Regions from separate parts of the Homo sapiens genome. Here region 1 is linked to region 2. The links are contacts of gene promoters, found by promoter capture Hi-C in human tissues and cell types (Jung and others, 2019). All regions are on one chromosome and are shown on one strand. Each heading gives the region's core, a stretch centred on a gene start or on the middle of the fragment in contact. The rest is flanking DNA. Distances are from core to core; before and after follow the strand shown. Region 1 overlaps KIF11 (kinesin family member 11). Region 2 holds the start of CYP26A1 (cytochrome P450 family 26 subfamily A member 1).

Evidence for each region. Contacts are between HindIII fragments. The study calls those that stand out against the background at their distance.
Region 1: a fragment that was not itself captured here is called in contact with the fragment with the promoter of CYP26A1 in region 2 in 1 of the 25 tissues and cell types used here (dorsolateral prefrontal cortex).

The regions. Positions count from the first base shown.
Region 1 is chr10:92,604,825-92,609,091 of GRCh38, forward strand. KIF11 (kinesin family member 11) reads left to right here. Exons shown (of 22, transcript NM_004523.4): 2 at 1,441-1,573; 3 at 1,795-1,892; 4 at 2,335-2,413; 5 at 4,196-4,267. Among named protein-coding and RNA genes, the nearest start is that of KIF11, 14 kb to the left of the region's middle. The HindIII fragment of the contact is 7,011 bases long and covers 1-4,267 here.
Region 2 is chr10:93,072,107-93,076,034 of GRCh38, forward strand. It overlaps CYP26A1 (cytochrome P450 family 26 subfamily A member 1), which reads left to right and starts at 1,787. Exons shown (of 7, transcript NM_000783.4): 1 at 1,787-2,017; 2 at 2,202-2,426; 3 at 2,673-2,963; 4 at 3,043-3,201; 5 at 3,720-3,854. The coding sequence starts at 1,829. The HindIII fragment of the contact is 10,778 bases long and covers 1-3,928 here.

The DNA.
Region 1 (4,267 bases), core at 1,744-4,243, 470 kb before region 2:
TTGATGCTACTCTGTGGACTGTGATATTAGTTTTCCCATAATTCCTCTTAGGATGACATTTATTAGGCAATGTAGTTTAACAGATATTTAAGAACCTACTGTGTGCTAAGCATGGTAGTTGTTGCTGGGGAAACAGTAAACTAGACAGTATTTCTTTCTGTAGTGATCTGAGGTTTAGTGGGTAACACATTAAAAAAAAAAGATAAGAGAGGTGATGTTTAGAAAAGGTGTATAAAGGGTGCTGTAGGAATATATAGCAGACATTTAATGTGGTCTTGGTTGGAGCAGGTGGGGGAGGCACATAGGATAGAAAGGACTTCCTGAGGAAATAATCATTTCAACTAAATACCTACTCAGGCATTTCCGTAGAATGAGGACTCTTGATCCAGTCGGCAGTGTAGACCTTCTGTGTCTATTCACTCATTTAAAAATGGGGCTAATAATATTACCAACCTCACAGTGTTGTGTGGACAAACTGAGTGAGCACAATGCAAAGCACTTGAAACAATAAGTACCTGGCACATAGTAAGTACTCAACTTATTAGTCATTATTTTTATGTACTTTTTATTTTGTGCCAGGTATCTACTGGCAGATTAGTATTTTGAACACAAATTTGACATGTTTTTTTCTACTACATCATAACCTAATTTGATCGGATTTTTTTTTTTTTTTTTTTTTGAGACGGAGTTTCGCTCTTGTTGCCCAGGCTGGAGTGCAATGGCGCGATCTTGGCTCACCGCAACCTCCACCTCCCAGGTTCAAGCAATTCTCCTGCCTCAGCCTCCCGAGTAGCAGGGATTACAGGCATGCACCACCATGCCCAGCTACTTTTGTATTTTTAATAGAGACAGAGTTTCTGCATGTTGGTCAGGCTGGTCTCGAACTCCCGACCTCAGGTGATCCGCCTGCCTCGGCCTCCCAAAGTGCTGGGATTACAGGCGTGAGCCACTGCGCCCAGCCTTGATCAGATTTTAAGAATAGGAGAAATGGAATTCTGAAAAATAAGTTTGGCATTTTTACAAGTTAAAACCTGTTAGTGGCTGGGCACAGTGTCTCACTTCTGTAATACTAGCACCTTGGGAAGCTGAGGTGGGATAATCACTTGAGCCCGGAAGTTTGAGACCAGCCTGTGCAACACAGCAAGACCCCATCTCTACCATCAAAACAAAACAAATCTATTCGTATCTGCTCTAAGAAGCTGCCAGAATTGTAATGTCTTAACATATCTTTGAACATTTAAAAAATTATATTTGTGAAACTTGAGACACTTATAATTTTACTGTCTGCTTTAGCAATATCACTTAGTCCTGATTTAATCTCCATCACCAACAATGTGGTCAAAATTTCGCATTTTTCTTGACAAATGTAGTTAGTGAAAATGTCATTGATAACCTGAGAACTAAGAGCTCTTGAATGACTTTGTGTATTTCTTTTTATAGACCATTTAATTTGGCAGAGCGGAAAGCTAGCGCCCATTCAATAGTAGAATGTGATCCTGTACGAAAAGAAGTTAGTGTACGAACTGGAGGATTGGCTGACAAGAGCTCAAGGAAAACATACACTTTTGATATGGTAACATATGGTGCAATTTCTTTATTATCCACTAATGTAAAATAATTTTAATATACATATTTTACCTGGAAAATGGTGTATACTTAGAAATTTCAGTTGTCTCTGAATTGTCAGATGGCTTCTAGTGGGCTGAATTATGAATTAGTTAACATACGAAAAACAAAATTATTAAAATGAGTAATTTTGAGGTTGATTTTTTTTTTTTTAATTTTTTTCGTTAGGTGTTTGGAGCATCTACTAAACAGATTGATGTTTACCGAAGTGTTGTTTGTCCAATTCTGGATGAAGTTATTATGGGCTATAATTGCACTATCTTTGCGTAAGTAAAAGGGTGTTTTTTCTGATTTATGAAAAAGCTTAAATGCTTGTGTTTTTTGTTGTTGTTTGTTTGTTTTTTGAGACGGAGTTTCACTCTTGTTGCCCAGGCTGGAGTGCAATGGCGCGATCTCGGCTCACTGCAGCCTCTGCCTCCTGGGTTCAAGCAATTCTCCTGTTTCAGCCTCCCAAGTAGCTGGGATTACAGCTGCCTGCCACCATGCCCGCTAATTTTTGTATTTTTAGTAGAGACGTGGTTTCACTGTGTTGGCCAGGCTGGTCTCGAACTCCGGACCTCAGGTGATCCGCCCACCTCGGCCTCCCAAAGTGTTGGGATTATAGGCTTGAGCCACTGTGCCTGGCTTGTTTTTTGTTTTTCTAGTCTATCACTAAGAGTCATATGGGTGCATGTTTCTTTTTGATTTAACACTTGTTAATCTTTACAGGTATGGCCAAACTGGCACTGGAAAAACTTTTACAATGGAAGGTGAAAGGTCACCTAATGAAGAGTATACCTGGGAAGAGGTATTTATTGTTTATAACATACTTTTATCTCTAATGTGACTGAAATTTAACTGTATAAAACTTGTTTGAGGGCCTCTGTCTTGGAATAGAGATCAGAGTACCTATGTCAAAATGAACTTAGGATAAACCACTACTACAGTAAAATTAAAGTGCATGGTATGACTCCTGTTTAAGAAACAGCCTCAATGGAAGAGGAAGGACCAATATATATGGCACAGTTATATGATAAAAGAGGAGTCTATTTATGACAGAATGGTTGGAGCAGAATATTGTAGAAAAGTTGGAATATGAGTGAAGCTTGAAGGCAGGGAGGGCTTTGTATTGAAGGAATGGGTCTCAGAAAGTTAGCATGGCCAGGGGAAGTATAGTACTTTATTCATGATGATCCTAAGTGTTCAAGAAATTAAGATGAATGTATTGTTTAATATTGCAGAAAGCATATACTATGTTTTACAAAGATTTCCATGAATTTAAGTGAGTTTAATAACTAAGAGAGAGAACCAATACTGGAAGAAAGTTGAAAGAAGACCAAGACAAGTTGAACTAGAGCTGAAGTGTTAAAACTTTTAAAAAAAAGTTTAGTTTTAAATTTAGTAATGTGTTTAAATTTAAATGAGTTTAATAACTAGTTAATTGGTCGGGCACGGTGGCTCATGCCTGTAATCCTAGCACTTTGGGAGGCTGAGGCGGGCAGATCACCTGAGGTCAGCAGTTCGAGACCAGCCTGGCCAACATGGTGAAACCCGGTCTCTACTAAAAATACAAAAATTAGCTGGGTGTGGTGGTGCATACGTGTAATCCCAGCTACCTGAGAACGAGACTCTGTCTCAAAAAAAAACAAAAAAACAAAAAACCAAAAAACTAGTTAATTTAAAAAAAAAAAGAATTTTTTTTAATTTTTTTTTTTTTTTTTAAATTTTAAAGTGATGGGGTCCCACTGTGTTCCCCAGGCCAGTCTTGAACTCTTGGGCTTCAGGAGTCCTCCCACTTCAGCCTCCTGAGTAGCTGGGATTAGAGGCACATACTACCTTGCCCAGCTAATTTTCCAAATTATTGACAGTTGGGTAGAACCTTTCTTCTAGTGGTTACATAATTGAGTCATTAACTTACTTTACATATATAGATAATAAAGTTATGAAATTGTTACCATAGGAGATATGGAATAGGCTTAAAGCATAGTTTCGCTGGGCAGAATTATTGAACTTGGCGTTTTTTTTTTGAGACGGAGTCTCGCTCTGTCGCCCAGGCTGGAGTACAGTGGCTCGATCTTGGCTCACTGCAACCTCCACCTCCCGGGTTCAAGTGATTCTCCTGCCTCAGCCTCCTGAGTAGCTGGGACTACAGGTACATACCACCAAGTCCGGCTAATTTTTGTATTTTTAGTAGAGATGGGGTTTCACCGTGTTGGCCGGGATGGTCTTGATCTCCTGACCTTGTGATCCACCTGCCTTGACCTCCCAAAGTGCTGGGATTATAGGCGTGAGCCACCGTGCCTGGCCGAACTTGGCTTTTTAAGTAGATAGGTTCCATTGGTTTCTATGTAATGCTCAGGGATGAAGATGGCTAAGAAGTGTGACAGGTTTATGGAGGGTGTGAAGACTACTGTAGAACAGACTGTTGTAAATGACTTCTCTAACATTAGGTTAGTTGTTTCTTTTTTTGTTTTGTTTTAACTTGCTTTGCCATACTTATGTTTAAATATATTATAAAGGAGGCCCATGTATTTTAACTGCCACAGTAAATGGCATTCTTCCTTTATATTAGTCCTTATTATAATTTCAGGATCCCTTGGCTGGTATAATTCCACGTACCCTTCATCAAATTTTTGAGAAACTTACTGATAATGGTACTGAA
Region 2 (3,928 bases), core at 537-3,036:
CAAATCGTTTGCCGGAGACTGAAACCCTGCCCAGAGCCTCTGAAACACTGGGCAGGTTATGGGGAAACGCTGACCCCCCGAAACACTCCCTGTGGCGGCGACTCTGGCTTGGAGAGTCGCTAGGATTGTGCGGGTCCCTCCGACCTCTGCAGATATTTCCTGATACCTCCGGGTTTGGGGACTACCGCGAGAAGGGCAACGCATTTAAACTCTCAGGAGCAGAGTTTTCCACCTCCAAGGGACGCCTTCCAAGGCGTGCGGCGTGCTTCTGCCAGAGACAGTGTTCAGTTTTAAACAAATGCAGGTCATTCTGTTTCATTTTCGGCGCCGCAGGTGCGTTCAGCGCCCAAACCCAGGTAGCGTGTGACCCTGACTGGTCCCGAGCCGGGAAGCTCCGGCAGGTGGAGAGCAGAGAGAGCAGGTGCGCGTCCCGCAGCGTCTGAGCTCCGGGCATTGGCAGCTCAGTAGCAGCTGATTGTAGATGGGCAAAGTACAGAAGACTTCCCAGTACGGATCCCTTCACCCCTCCCATTAGGGGTCGGTAGAGCCCTGAGTTTAGGGCCGAGCACCCCCTCACCTGGATGAGGACAGTGGCTTTACTCTGGGTGGGACTTGGGAGAGAGGAGGAGGACTCCAGTGCCCGGTGTACCGGACACCCAGGTAACGCAGTCTACCGTGCCTGGAGCTGGGAAGAGTAGTTGCAACCGGAGCCCCCTTTTGGGAACTCACTACCCTGAGGCTTAGACAGGTCGGGAATGATCGCCTCCCGGTTAAGGAGGAGGAAACAGGCACAGTGATGTGTGGTGACTTGCCCAAGGTCACACGCAGTACAGATGGAGCCGGGCCTCGGAGCCAGGACTCCTGGGCTCCCCTTCCTCTTATACCGTCTCTTTATCCTGCCAGGGCTAAGGACCCCCTTCCCTGCTGTCCAGCTGGGGCGCCAAGCAGCAGGGCCCTCCGAATAGGCGAGCTGTGCTTGGATCTCAGAGACGGGCACCGACTGCCGAGCCCCAGACGAAGTGCCCCAGGGTCGGGGATCAGGCTTGTGCAGGGTAGCACCTGGGGACCTGAGGGACCTGGAGGCCTTCTTGTATCCTGAAGTAGGACCTTCTAAGACTTCATGAGTCCTGGCCCCCTTGCAGGGGTTGGGGAGCTGGGGATCCCAGATCTGCCTATTGCGCCCGATGCCCCGAGGCTCTCTCTTGGACTCTGGCCCTGAGTTCTTCTGCGCGATCCTTCGGAGACGTCTGGAGGCCTGCTTTATGCATCTCTCTTGGACCTCAGTTTCCCCACACGTGGGAGGAGGCAGCTGGACGATTCCTGAAAGGACTTTCCCTTGCTTCCTCATCACGTGGAAGAGAGCCCACCCGGCACCTGGAAATGGAAAGCCAGTGAAGGCTGCTTTGGGCCGGGGCAGCGGGTGGGACCGGGCGGGAGGGATTCCAAAGAGACCGCCGGGAAGGCTAGAGCTTGGAATTCCGGCTCCTCGGAGTCCTGGCCCTCCCCCACCGCCGCCTCGGAGCTCAGCACACCTTGGATGGGGGAGGCGGGCAGCTCCTAGCCCCGCACCCCAGGAGGCGCGCTCGGAGGGAAGCCGCCACCGCGCCGCCTCTGCCTCGGCGCGGAACAAACGGTTAAAGATTTTGGGCAGCGCCTCGCGGGGGGAGGAGCCAGGGGCCCAATCCGCAATTAAAGATGAACTTTGGGTGAACTAATTGTCTGACCAAGGTAACGTGGGCAGCAACCTGGGCCGCCTATAAAGCGGCAGCGCCGTGGGGTTTGAAGCGCTGGCGGCGGCGGCAGGTGGCGCGGGAGGTCGCGGCGCGCCATGGGGCTCCCGGCGCTGCTGGCCAGTGCGCTCTGCACCTTCGTGCTGCCGCTGCTGCTCTTCCTGGCTGCGATCAAGCTCTGGGACCTGTACTGCGTGAGCGGCCGCGACCGCAGTTGTGCCCTCCCATTGCCCCCCGGGACTATGGGCTTCCCCTTCTTTGGGGAAACCTTGCAGATGGTACTGCAGGTAAGGGAGGGTGGGGCGGGACAGGCTGCTTCCCCGGAGCCCGGCGCGGCTCTGGGCTTCTGCTGAAGTCGGGGTAGGCGCCCCCGGGAGGCATGCTATTGCGGCTAGGAGCAGGGCTGGCGGGAGCGCGGCGCTCCCCGGCGCCCCCTCATGCCCACTTCTCTCCTCCGCCTTCCTCCCACAGCGGAGGAAGTTCCTGCAGATGAAGCGCAGGAAATACGGCTTCATCTACAAGACGCATCTGTTCGGGCGGCCCACCGTACGGGTGATGGGCGCGGACAATGTGCGGCGCATCTTGCTCGGAGAGCACCGGCTGGTGTCGGTCCACTGGCCAGCGTCGGTGCGCACCATTCTGGGATCTGGCTGCCTCTCTAACCTGCACGACTCCTCGCACAAGCAGCGCAAGAAGGTGGGGGCAGGAGGCGACGGCTGGACAGGGAGGGGGACCCCATTTATGAGCGGAATTCCGGCTGATGGATGCTAGGCGCGGGCTAGCAGCTTGAGGTGGGCTAGGACCCTCTGCCAGCTCCAGGTTAGCTTTCCCAGCTCGGAGAGTGCCATGTGTCTGGCAGGACTGGGGGTGTCTGGAAGGGGACGGCGGTAGACGAGAGGGGCGGATGGAGGCTTTTAACGCTGTCCCCTCCTCGGGACTCAGGTGATTATGCGGGCCTTCAGCCGCGAGGCACTCGAATGCTACGTGCCGGTGATCACCGAGGAAGTGGGCAGCAGCCTGGAGCAGTGGCTGAGCTGCGGCGAGCGCGGCCTCCTGGTCTACCCCGAGGTGAAGCGCCTCATGTTCCGAATCGCCATGCGCATCCTACTGGGCTGCGAACCCCAACTGGCGGGCGACGGGGACTCCGAGCAGCAGCTTGTGGAGGCCTTCGAGGAAATGACCCGCAATCTCTTCTCGCTGCCCATCGACGTGCCCTTCAGCGGGCTGTACCGGGTAAGGGCGGCAAACGGGCTGCGGACTAGGGGCGCGGGACCTGGGCGTCTGCTCACCGCCGCGCGCTCTCTGCGCTCAGGGCATGAAGGCGCGGAACCTCATTCACGCGCGCATCGAGCAGAACATTCGCGCCAAGATCTGCGGGCTGCGGGCATCCGAGGCGGGCCAGGGCTGCAAAGACGCGCTGCAGCTGTTGATCGAGCACTCGTGGGAGAGGGGAGAGCGGCTGGACATGCAGGTGAGTAGCAGCTTCAGACCAGGCACTGCGGAGTTTGGTCCCCTGGCTTTCCAAGCGCTGTTCCTGGGGCCCCCAAAGCGCGCGCCTGGGGCCCAGCTTTCTGGAGTGGGCGGCCGGCTCAGACTACAGCTATGGAATCCCGAAGGAAGGCTGAGACACCCGGTCAGGAGAGCTGCGGAAGGGGCTGCGGCGGAACTGGGAGCATCCCCTAGCCTTTCCAGGTTTCAAAGGGAAAGTTGGAATTTGCAAAAATGTTAATAAAGAACCTTGCGATTTTAATAAAACTAAGACTTTAACTCAGGAGTTTCCGGTAGAGCGGGGTCGTACTCGCCTTACTGCTCCAGCTGAACTAAAGGGACGTTGCATTTTGTTTAAAGATATTGCTTTCCTTGACTTTCTGTCAGCAAAACATTTAGCCCTTCTAGTCTTCCCTCCAGAACTCTCAGTTCGATTCTGAGTAATCCTTCTGTCAAACCGCAGGCAGACTTGTGAGAATGTGGGTCTCACTCTATTCTTAGGCACTAAAGCAATCTTCAACCGAACTCCTCTTTGGAGGACACGAAACCACGGCCAGTGCAGCCACATCTCTGATCACTTACCTGGGGCTCTACCCACATGTTCTCCAGAAAGTGCGAGAAGAGCTGAAGAGTAAGGTAGGGAGACTGGGTCTGGGGGTGTCCTTATTAGCTTAGGAAATTCAGCTGCTCCCTAGCCAACTTCCGAATAA